Linked DNA regions of Homo sapiens: region 2 is linked to region 1. The links are contacts of gene promoters, found by promoter capture Hi-C in human tissues and cell types (Jung and others, 2019). All regions are on one chromosome and are shown on one strand. Each heading gives the region's core, a stretch centred on a gene start or on the middle of the fragment in contact. The rest is flanking DNA. Distances are from core to core; before and after follow the strand shown. Region 1 holds the start of HAL (histidine ammonia-lyase). Region 2 overlaps SNRPF-DT (SNRPF divergent transcript).

Region 1 (5,033 bases), core at 1-2,500:
ACTGACTGGAGGTCAGGTCCAAGGCTGGCAGTGACTAGAGTAAAAGGGCAGCTGGAAGGTTGTGGTCAGAAGGTGGAATATTGGAATTTCAGATTTCTTAAGTGTGTCAAATTCAGGTCGTGACAGATTCCAGGGTGATTTCTTAAGTGTGTCAAATTCAGGTCATGACAAATTCCAGGGTGCAGTCATGGTGTGGGTATCTGAAGAGCAAGTTTCAATAAGGCTCAAGGAAGGGTAGCTATTTGTACGCTTCCTGGGAAGCTGTCAGCAGATGAGAGGGACTCTGGGTATGAGTATAGGTGTTTTTCTTGAGCAACCATGTCTCTCTTCCCAACAGAAGTCTGATTTAGTGGAAACAGACTTTTCAGGATTTTTCTAGTGCAATAATCAAATCTCTAAAAATTGGCTTACGATGAAAGTGCTGCTTAGTCAAAATAGCATCTGCATATCTTTGATGCCGTAATCATGCTATCCAGAGTTCCTTAATACCAATGGTAATAAGGCGGGTGCAGGGAGCAGTTATCTGTGGTGAAGAAGCTTAATTGGGTGAGGGATATCCATGTGCCAAGATGAAAGAGCATTTATGGAACTTTATAGCTTTATGATTCATACAGAACATTTATAAAGCATTATAGTTACATGGAGTATTGGTGTCCAGATACTAGTAATCACAGACACTTCTATAATATTTCCACTATGCCAGGTGTTGTGTTGAGGGCTTTACATATATGAACTGACTTCATCCTCCCAATAGCCCTTTGACATATATACTATCATCATTACCATTATCTTCATTTTACAGATGAGGCAACTGAGGCCCAGAGAAGTCAAATCACTTGCCCACAAGTCATACACTTAGCAAATGGCAGAGCCAGGATTTGATCACAGGTAAATCCTGCACATACTGGAAGGAGGCAGTTAGCCCCTAGGCCTTCTGATAAGGAAATACAGGGTAATACTCACCTAATCAAGGCTAATAAGTAGTAGAGCTGGACTCTCATCCACGGCTGTCTGAGCCCCTAATCTCCAAGTCAGAGTGGTTCATTTGCCCAGATGACGACCTTTAGTTGTGAAAATGATCTCTGGCCTTTGCAGTCTTCCCTGGTGGAAAGAAAGCTTCAGAAAACCTTACTGGTGACAGGAAGTAGTTGCTCAATACATGTTTGTGGAATAAACAAATGAGTGACGATTGCCACACTCCCAGTGTCACAGTTGGCCCACAGAACACGTTTTACAGTTGAGTAATCTCAGATAAAGACAGGAACATGGTGTTTATAAGCTGCCCTTAATGGCAGAGAACACAGACAGAAACGAGGGAAGAGAGAGAAATTGGGGACCCTGAAGAAAGGGGGCCAGCAGCAGGTAGGTGCCATCAGGGACAAGAACAGCACCTCCCAGGGTGGGAGACCCCAGGCCTTTCTGGCAGCAGGTCTGGATGGAAAGTGGACAGGAGGCTCACCCGTCTGCATCCCCTGCTCCTGCCCCTGCTCGGCTACAAAAACCAAAGGGACAGCAGGTACCTCAATAAATATTTGTCCAATGCATGAATGAGTAAAGGTGAAGGAGGGGGAGTGGTTTGAAAGTCTATTCTCATCCTTCCAGCTGACCACACCCCGGTAGCCACTCCTGCATAAAGCTCTCCCCTCCTGTGACCAGCTGAGGACCTCAGGCTGCAGCGGAGCCATGCCCAGATACACGGTGCACGTACGTGGGGAATGGCTGGCAGTGCCCTGCCAGGACGCGCAGCTCACTGTGGGCTGGCTGGGCCGGGAGGCCGTGAGGCGCTATATCAAGAATAAGCCCGACAATGGTGGCTTCACCTCCGTGGATGACGCGCACTTCCTTGTGCGCCGGTGCAAGGGCCTGGGCCTGCTGGACAACGAGGACCGGCTCGAGGTGGCCCTAGAGAACAACGAGTTCGTGGAAGTGGGTGAGTGGCTGCAGGAGAGGGCCGCGAACGGGTGCGGTTTGGCCTGGCTTAGTCTTTGCAGCATTGAACCCCCACCTCAGGGAAAATGATGAGCAGAGGTCAGGCTTGCCGAGGCTGGCCCTGTGCAGGCACATGCCACGCCTCTGGGGATCTTAAGTCCTCACACAACCCTGTGAGATGGGTAGGATTCTCCTCCACCTCTGATGGAGGAGAAATCAGAGAGGAGGTAACTTACCCAGACTCCAGCAGCTAGTAAGTAACAAAGACTAGACTGGTACTCAAGGCTGCAGGTCTGAATCCCTTTGCAGTGACTGAATCATTTTGAGGTTATTTTGCCTTTCGAAAGAATCCACCCCCACCCCCAGACTGGAGGCCGGCAGCATAGCATCAGTTCAGATTTTGAAGAAAATAAAGCTGGGAATGGGGATGGAAGTGGAATTCTGTCTTGAACTTTCATCTAAACCCCTGGTCTCTGCCCTGACACCTACCTTTCTGCTTTTTGCTCTCCTCCTACATAAAGATGCTAAGACCACATGAAACCATCTGAAGCAGTTTTAAAGCAGCCATTTCTATAGAATTCATGGGCCAATGATGGGCCGTTCCTTGGTTTAACAGGGGGAACATGGCTGTACAATGTGATCTGTAACGAGTCTCCCGTGCATTGTTTTAGTTATAGAGGGTGATGCCATGTCTCCTGACTTCATTCCATCTCAACCAGAAGGAGTTTATCTGTATCCTTTCCCACAGGCTCTTTGGTCTGCTCTGGGGGTGGCTCCTGCAGATGGTGGGGCTGGGGGTTTTTCCACACCACCCTATATGTTCCTTTACCTGGATACAGATACAGCAAGTACCGGGAGCCTGAAAAGGTAAGCTTCAAACCACTTTCTTTTTCTTCAGAAAATTAAGGCCCCTTATTTAAGAGGGAGGAAAGCCAGGAAAACTTCTGAGAAAACACTGTCAATTAGAACAGGGCTGGCCGGGAGCAGTGACTCATGTCTGTAGTCCCAGCACTTTGGGTGGCCGAGGTGGGCAGTTCACTTGAGGTCATCAGTTTGAAACCAGCCTGGCCAACATGGTGAAACCCCATCTCTACTAAAAGTACAAAAATTAGCCAGGTATGGTGGCGTGCACCTGTAATACCAGCTACTCAGGAGCCTGAGGCACGAGAATTGCTTGAACCCAGGAGGCAGAGGTTGCAGTGAGCCATGTTTGTACCACTGCACTCCAGCCTGGGCTGGAGACTCTGCCTCAAAACAAACAAACCAACCAACCACAGGGCTTTATCCAGCTCTGTAGTGGGGAAAGGGGGCTTGGAAAGGCATTATGCTTTTGCACCAATAAGCCTCCTCTTATGCAAGATGCATTTTTATTTAGCATATTCATGTTTCACGCAATGATCAGATCTCTGAAATGTCAGTTTGGTTCTGTTGGAGGTGTCCCTACTCTGGTTAGAATAATCAAGCTGTTCAGACTCACTGAGATCCCCTTCTTTTGTGTAGTACATCGAGTTAGATGGAGACCGTCTGACCACGGAGGATCTGGTCAACTTGGGAAAGGGACGCTACAAAATAAAGGTATGGGGAGGGAGGGGAAAGATGTCCTCTGGCCATTTTTGTTGCCCGTGGAAGTCTTTAACGTGCTCAGTTCTGATCAACATTTTCCTAGCTCACCCCAACAGCTGAGAAGAGGGTGCAGAAATCCAGGGAGGTCATAGATAGCATCATAAAAGAGAAAACAGGTATCTTTTTATCTTTATGTTATAAATATTTTTATAAACAAACAAAAATCCCTGCATTTAATTGCATAATGTCTCTTTTTATTCTAGTTGTTTACGGTATTACTACAGGTTTTGGGAAATTTGCCAGAACTGTAATTCCTATCAATAAGCTACAGTAAGTTTAAAACACACATATGTTCACGTTCCACCTACCCTCATCTTTTAAATATTTTTCAACAAGGGAAATAATTCACATTTGCCCCAATTTACAGATCAGAGGATGAGGCTTGGGTTACCTTGCATGTGAGTTGGTATTGAAAACCCAGGCTGGCTGGTTTCTCCCATTGCCTTCCTTCTGTCCCTCCAAGGATTTGACCATGATTCCCTTCATTTTCCCAGCTGAGGGAACATTTTCTCACTGCAATGTATCTAAGAGGGTTTTTACCTTTCTGTTGCAGGGAGCTTCAGGTCAACTTAGTACGCTCACATTCTTCAGGTAAGTCAAAACGTTGGGTGCCTCCTGGATCTTGTGTGATTAGATGAATAAAGCACAGCACAGTGTGAGTTATCCAGTTATAGTCACAAAAAGCTAGTTTCTCAAAACAGCATTTCAAGAACTAGGTGCCGAGGTGAGAAGGGATGCAGAAAGAATCAGCTGAGCCTCAGAAAAAGAAATGGGCCAGGTGGAGGGATGGGGTTGGTATGAGAACACATGTCCCATGCCATGGAGACACTGTTGCATTCAGGGAAGGAAATAAAGCCTGGAACTCAAAGAATGAGTTAGGATGGGCATAGTGAGATGGGAAAGACTGTCACCAATCAGCACCCATCAGATGGTAAAGAAGTTGTGCTAAGGACTCTGGATGCTATTCTAAAGGTGAGTGGGAGGTCAGGGGTTCACTGAAGCTTCCCAAAAAGGGGAATTGAGAAGGCAAAACTGGGGTCTTAACCTTTGTCAGGAAGATGGGGCTCAGACAAGTCAGACAGGCAGGAGGGAGAGTAGTCCAACTACCTGAGCCGAGAGGAGAAGGTAATAGCAGGCTGGGCTACATATGGGAAAGATTGGAGGGAGGGAGGGCAATTGTCAGGAGACAAAAAGGAGTTTGCTTTTCTTGGAGAAAACATCAATTCTGTTTTGCAGGTGTTGGGAAACCACTAAGTCCTGAGAGGTGTCGGATGCTCTTGGCTTTAAGGATCAATGTCTTAGCCAAAGGATACAGTGGCATTTCCCTGGAGACCCTCAAACAAGTCATAGAAATGTTTAATGGTAATGCAATGGCTCCCTAGACGGAACCTCTGTGGAGGCTGGACATGTACCACAGGGTAGAATTGATTGGCCAGATGCTGAGGAATCACCTGAGAAGACATGAAATAATTGAAATGAGT
Region 2 (5,206 bases), core at 1,513-4,012, 180 kb after region 1:
AGGACTGACAAATAAGAACTCCTTAAATCAATAATTGAACCTTTTTAGAAGGAGAGTGACCTTTGATAATCATGAAAATCGTGAACTCTCTGGAAATTTTCATCTAAACATATAAAAATCAGCCAGGTGCAGTGCCTCACACCTGTAATCCCAGCACTTTGGGGGCCACGGTTGGCGGATCACTTGAGGACAGGAGCTTGAGACCAGACAGGCCAACACAGTGAAACTTTGTTGCTACCAAAAAAATACAAAAATTAGCTGGGCTTGATGGCACGTTCTTGTAGTCCCATCTACTCGGGAGGCTAAGGCAGGAGAATCGCTTGAACCTGAGAGGTAGAGGTTGCAGTGAGCTGAGATCACACCACTGTACCCCAGCCTGGGTGACAGAGTGAGACCCTGCCTCAAAAAATTTTTTTATGAAAACATACAATTGTTACATGCAGGTTTTGCAGATTTGCAGACCTCCTAAAAGCTCATGCATGGACTCCAGATCAGGACCCCTTGACCAGAATGGATAAAAGCACTTGCCCAGGTTCCTTTCCCAAGCTTTCTTAAACTCTGCCAATAACTAGAATTTCAGCTGAGGCTGGCACGTATCATGTGAACTAAACAACGTGACTACGCAAATGAATGGAATGGAAACCAACCCTGTAAATTCAGGTAATTAACCAAACGTGGGCAGTGTCTACTTTGGAAATATTTGACTTATGGATAACAGTCAAAGTGTTTATATGTACATTTTTTCTAAGAATAATTAAGAAAAGAAAAAAGTAATAGATTTGTTTGCTGAAATATTTATTTGGAAGCTTGTTTTTCCGTGGGGAGCAAACCAAATCCTAGGAGTTGCTCCACATAATGTTTTCTAGTGCCTGAATAATTGTCCAACTGTTTTCATTTTACACCTTCTAACCGGAAAGAACTAGTTTATAATTTTGTTACTGACTTTCTTGCATCATAAATATTACAGAATAGCCCAAACTAGGTGAAATTAGTTCATTGTATGAATACAAATTAATGAAATTTCACTACATTATGTAAAGATACTCTAAATCAAATAAGCTTGAACTGCAGAGTCTTTCCCTCCAAATCAAATAAGCTTGAAACTCCTTTATATTCTTTGTTCTAGAGTCTTTCCTTATTAAAAAGACTTCTTAGGCTGGGCACGATGGCTCAAACCTGTAATCCCAGCACTTTTGGAGGCCAGAAGTTTGAGACCAGCCTGGGCAACATAGTGAGACCCTGCCTCTACAAAAAAGTTTTAGAAAATTAGCCAGGTGTGGTGGCACTGCCTATGGTCCCATCTACTTGGGAGGCTGAGGTGGGAGGATTGCTTGAGCCTGGGAGGTTGAGGCTGCGGTGAGCCATGATTGCACCACTGTACTCCAGCCTGGGCAACAGAGTCAGACTGTCTCAAAAGAAAAAAAGACCTCTTTCCAGGGACACTCTGTTCTGTTAGCCACATATCAAGTTTTCAAAAACAGGTGTTGAATGACAAAGAGGGTTCTTCTTCTTCTTCTTCTTCTTCTTCTTCTTCTTCTTCTTCTTCTTCTTTTTTTTTTTTTTAGTGAAACGGAGTTTCATTCTGTTGCCCAGAATAGAGGGTAGTGGTGTGATCGTGGCTCACTGCAGCCTTGACCTCCTGGGCTCAAGTGATCCTGTTACTTCAGGCTCTGAAGTAGGAAGGACTATAAGAAGGTGTCACCATGCTCAGCTAATTTTTTTTTTTTTTTTTTTGAGACAGAGTCTCACTCTGTTGCCCAAGCTGGAGTACAGTGGCATGATCTTGGCTCACTGCAACTTACGCCTCCTGGGTTCAAGCAATTCTCCTCCCTCAGCCTCCCGAATAGCTGGGACTACAGATGCCGCCACCACACCCAGCTAATTTTTGTATTTTTAGTAGAGATGGGGTTTCACCATGTTGGCCAGGCTGGTCTCGAACTCCTGACCTCAGGTGATCCACCCGCCTTGGCCTCCAAAAGTGCTGGGATTACAGGCATGAGCCACCACGCCCAACTGCTCAGCCAATTTTTAAAATTTTTTGTATTGATGGTGTCTTGCTACGTTGCCAAGGCTGTTCTCAAACTCCTGGGTTTAAGCAATCCTCCTGCCTCAGTCCCCCAAAGTGTTGGGATTACAGGTGTGGGCCACCACACCTGGTCAGCATTCTTCTTTATCATGATCACCCTGTTACTGAAAGTACGTTATAGGCTATAGTTACAATAGATAAATTGGGCCAATTTTTAAGAAGTATCATTTTACTCACTGGAGATTATGTTAACGCCATGAGAATGGTAAAACCAGGGTTTGTTTTTCTTCTGTTATGCAACTTTGCTATATGTACTAGGCATATAAAGTAAAACAGTAGTATATTAGAGTCCTGATTTGGTGCAGTGATCATTTATAGGCTTAGCTGGTCATAGCACCCATTGTGAAATTACATGCGGAAAATGGATCCTGTTTTAAGAGAACAGAATCTAACTTGGATTCTAATTCTTCAACCACCAAAAACTTCCACACCTCTTTCTAGGAGATACAGAAAAATATATGCCCTTTATTGGAGTCATAAAGAGCTCTACATTCAGAGTTCTGTTTCCTTAAGGCAAAGAACCTGAATGCTAACCCTTCTTTGTTTGTAATTGACAAAAACCGTAGGATGTTTTCTTAAAGAAAATTATCATTATATATATATTTTTCTCCAGAGTTAAAATGTTGATACTGATAATTTTCTTTAAGAAAATATCTTAGGGATATTGTCAATTACAAACAAAGGAGGGTCAGTACTCAGGCATTTTAACTCTGGAGAAAAGTTTATATTTTCACAACTAAATACTTCACCATTTATCCAATAAAATCTGTAAATTTTCAGTTATTGATTTAACTATTTCTCTCTGACTTTAGAACTTGATATCATTTGACTGTTATCACAAGTACTTGATTTAATGGCCATGTTTTTCTCTAGACGATATCATCCTACATGAGTCATGGTAGGCTTAGTCAACAGACTTGTATTTCTTTTTGTTTGTTTGTTTGTTTGTTTGTTTTTGAGACAGAGTCTCACTCTGTCACCAGGCTGGAGTGCAGTGGCGCGATCTCACCTCACTGCCACCCCTGCCTCCCAGGTTCAAGCAATTCTCCTGCCGCAGCCTCCCAAGTAGCTGGGACTACAGGCATGCACCACCACGCCCAGCTAATTTTTGTATTTTTAGTAGAGATGGTGTTTCACTATTGGCCAGGATGGTCTCGATCTCTTGAACTCATGATTTGCCCACCTCGGCCTCCCAAAGTGTTGGGATTACAGACATGAGCCACTGCTCCTGACCTTGTATTTCTATTTCTATAGCCATGATTCTATAATCTTATTTGATCATTCCATCAATTTATGGTTCTGTAGTAAAATATTTTGTTTGTATATGTTCATATCATGTACCAAATGTAAGTGTTCATTTTACCATAATTTCTTGACACTTTAAAAATTGTTAGCATTTTCTAAAGTTTAGAATTATTCAGCTTGGGGGGAAGTTCAGTGAGGACTGCTGGTGGTGGATAGCATGAGACCTGGGTAATACTGAAAACAGCTCTGTGTCTAAGCTGCTCCTTGGATCAATAGACTTTCTTTCTGGGCCAAATTATAGCTCCTTTTCATTGACAGGTGAACATCTCAATATCTTGTAGCCTTTTCTCCTTCTTAGAAAACATGATAGAAATAAATGGGTGAATCCAAAGCAGTATAATTTTAGCAAACAGAAAAGATATTACACTCCTTCTGGAGTGTAATGGCATGATCATAGTTTACTGTAGCCTCGGGGCTTGAGTGAGCCTCCCACTTCAGCCTCCTGAGTAGCTGGAACTATAGGTTTGTGCCACCATGCCTGGCTAATTTTTGTTATCTTTAGTAGAGACGAGGTCTCAGTATGTCACCCAGGCTGGTCTCCAACTCCTGAGCTTAAGCAATCCTCCCTCTTCTGTCTCCCAAAGTGCTAGGATTACAGGTGTGAGCCATCACGCCCAGCCCCTTATTAATTTTAAACTTTCATGTATTCCTTTGGAGAATGTCTTTCTTGCCCCTTTTTAGCATATCCAAACCTTATCATAGTCGCCATCCAGCTTTTTTTTTCTTTTTCTGGGTCTCCCAGTCTCTAGCATGTTTTATTGCCTTATAGTAGTTTCTCATTGCTTTATGTGCAAATTATTACATGCCAAATCAGATTGTATGCCTCTTGAGAACAATCTTGTGCTTTATTTACCAAGCTTGGTAAACGCTGAATATATAATCTACTTTCCTTGCATTTAATTATCACTAAAGAGTTGATTCCCAATTTACTTTATCCCCTACCATTTATGCATTTTGTTGGGAAATGTTTACTTATGTGCTGGGAAACATAAATAAAGCCCAAGATTGTTCTCAAGAGGCTTACAATCTGATACAAATTCATAAACTTTCTTAAAACATTATGAGATTTTTTTTTTGCTTTTTTCTTTTTCTTTTTCTTTTTTTTTTTTTAGCTCATCAGCTTTCTTTAGTGTTAGTGTATTTTATGTGTGGCGCAAGACACTTCTTCTTCTTCCAGTGTGGCTCAGGAAAGCCAAAAGACTGGACACCCCTGCATTAGACTATTAATAAGCAGTTCTTATTTCTGAAGAAGCTTTGGGTCATATTCTTCTCTCCTTTTTTTGGCCTGATCTACTGTAGGTGAACATTTGTAGATTAGCTGGTTCCCCTTCATTCCTTCTCTTCTGAAATGTGTGGTAAAGTAAAAATGCCTAAGGCAATAATTTGTGGATAAAAACGGCTGCACATGAAAAATAATTGATGTGGTTTAAAAATTACTCTGAGGTGGAAAATAAAATGCCTTTTCAACCTACACTCTAAAAAGAGTACTAAAGCTAATTCTTTATAAATCATGGAATGGAAGCAAAGAAAGACACATTTTTGGGTAGTCAATCAATTTTAAATAAGGAGAGTTTTTAAATTTTGTATAAAAAATTAAAAAATGTTCAGTTCCCTAAAAGGACATAGCTGAAGATGAAGAAAGTCTTAACTACACCCTTAGCAATGTGAGTTTAATGTTTTCTATAATTATAAATATGAAAGCTGATCACTTTGGTTTCTTTATAAGTTAATCATTTTAAACATCACACACCAGGGCCTGTTGGGGGCTTGGGGGCAAGGGGAGGGAGAGCATTAGGACAAATAACCTAATGCATG

The links. Contacts are between HindIII fragments. The study calls those that stand out against the background at their distance.
Region 2: a contact is called between a fragment that was not itself captured here and the fragment with the promoter of HAL in region 1, in 1 of the 25 tissues and cell types used here (mesendoderm cells).

The regions. Positions count from the first base shown.
Region 1 is chr12:95,992,561-95,997,593 of GRCh38, reverse strand. HAL (histidine ammonia-lyase) reads left to right here and starts at 1,250. Exons shown (of 21, transcript NM_002108.4): 1 at 1,250-1,516; 2 at 1,603-1,930; 3 at 2,601-2,661; 4 at 2,769-2,796; 5 at 3,430-3,504; 6 at 3,596-3,668; 7 at 3,756-3,822; 8 at 4,106-4,143; 9 at 4,789-4,914. The coding sequence starts at 1,684. It overlaps LOC102723340 (a long non-coding RNA gene), which reads right to left and starts at 1,112. Exons shown (of 4, transcript XR_945237.4): 1 at 964-1,112. RefSeq lists an enhancer at 868-1,037. The HindIII fragment of the contact is 2,850 bases long and covers 828-3,677 here.
Region 2 is chr12:95,810,127-95,815,332 of GRCh38, reverse strand. All of the region lies in intron 2 of SNRPF-DT (SNRPF divergent transcript), which reads left to right. The region is part of intron 1 of LINC02410 (long intergenic non-protein coding RNA 2410); the gene reads right to left. Among named protein-coding and RNA genes, the nearest start is that of LINC02410, 9.6 kb to the right of the region's middle. The HindIII fragment of the contact is 3,368 bases long and covers 1,079-4,446 here.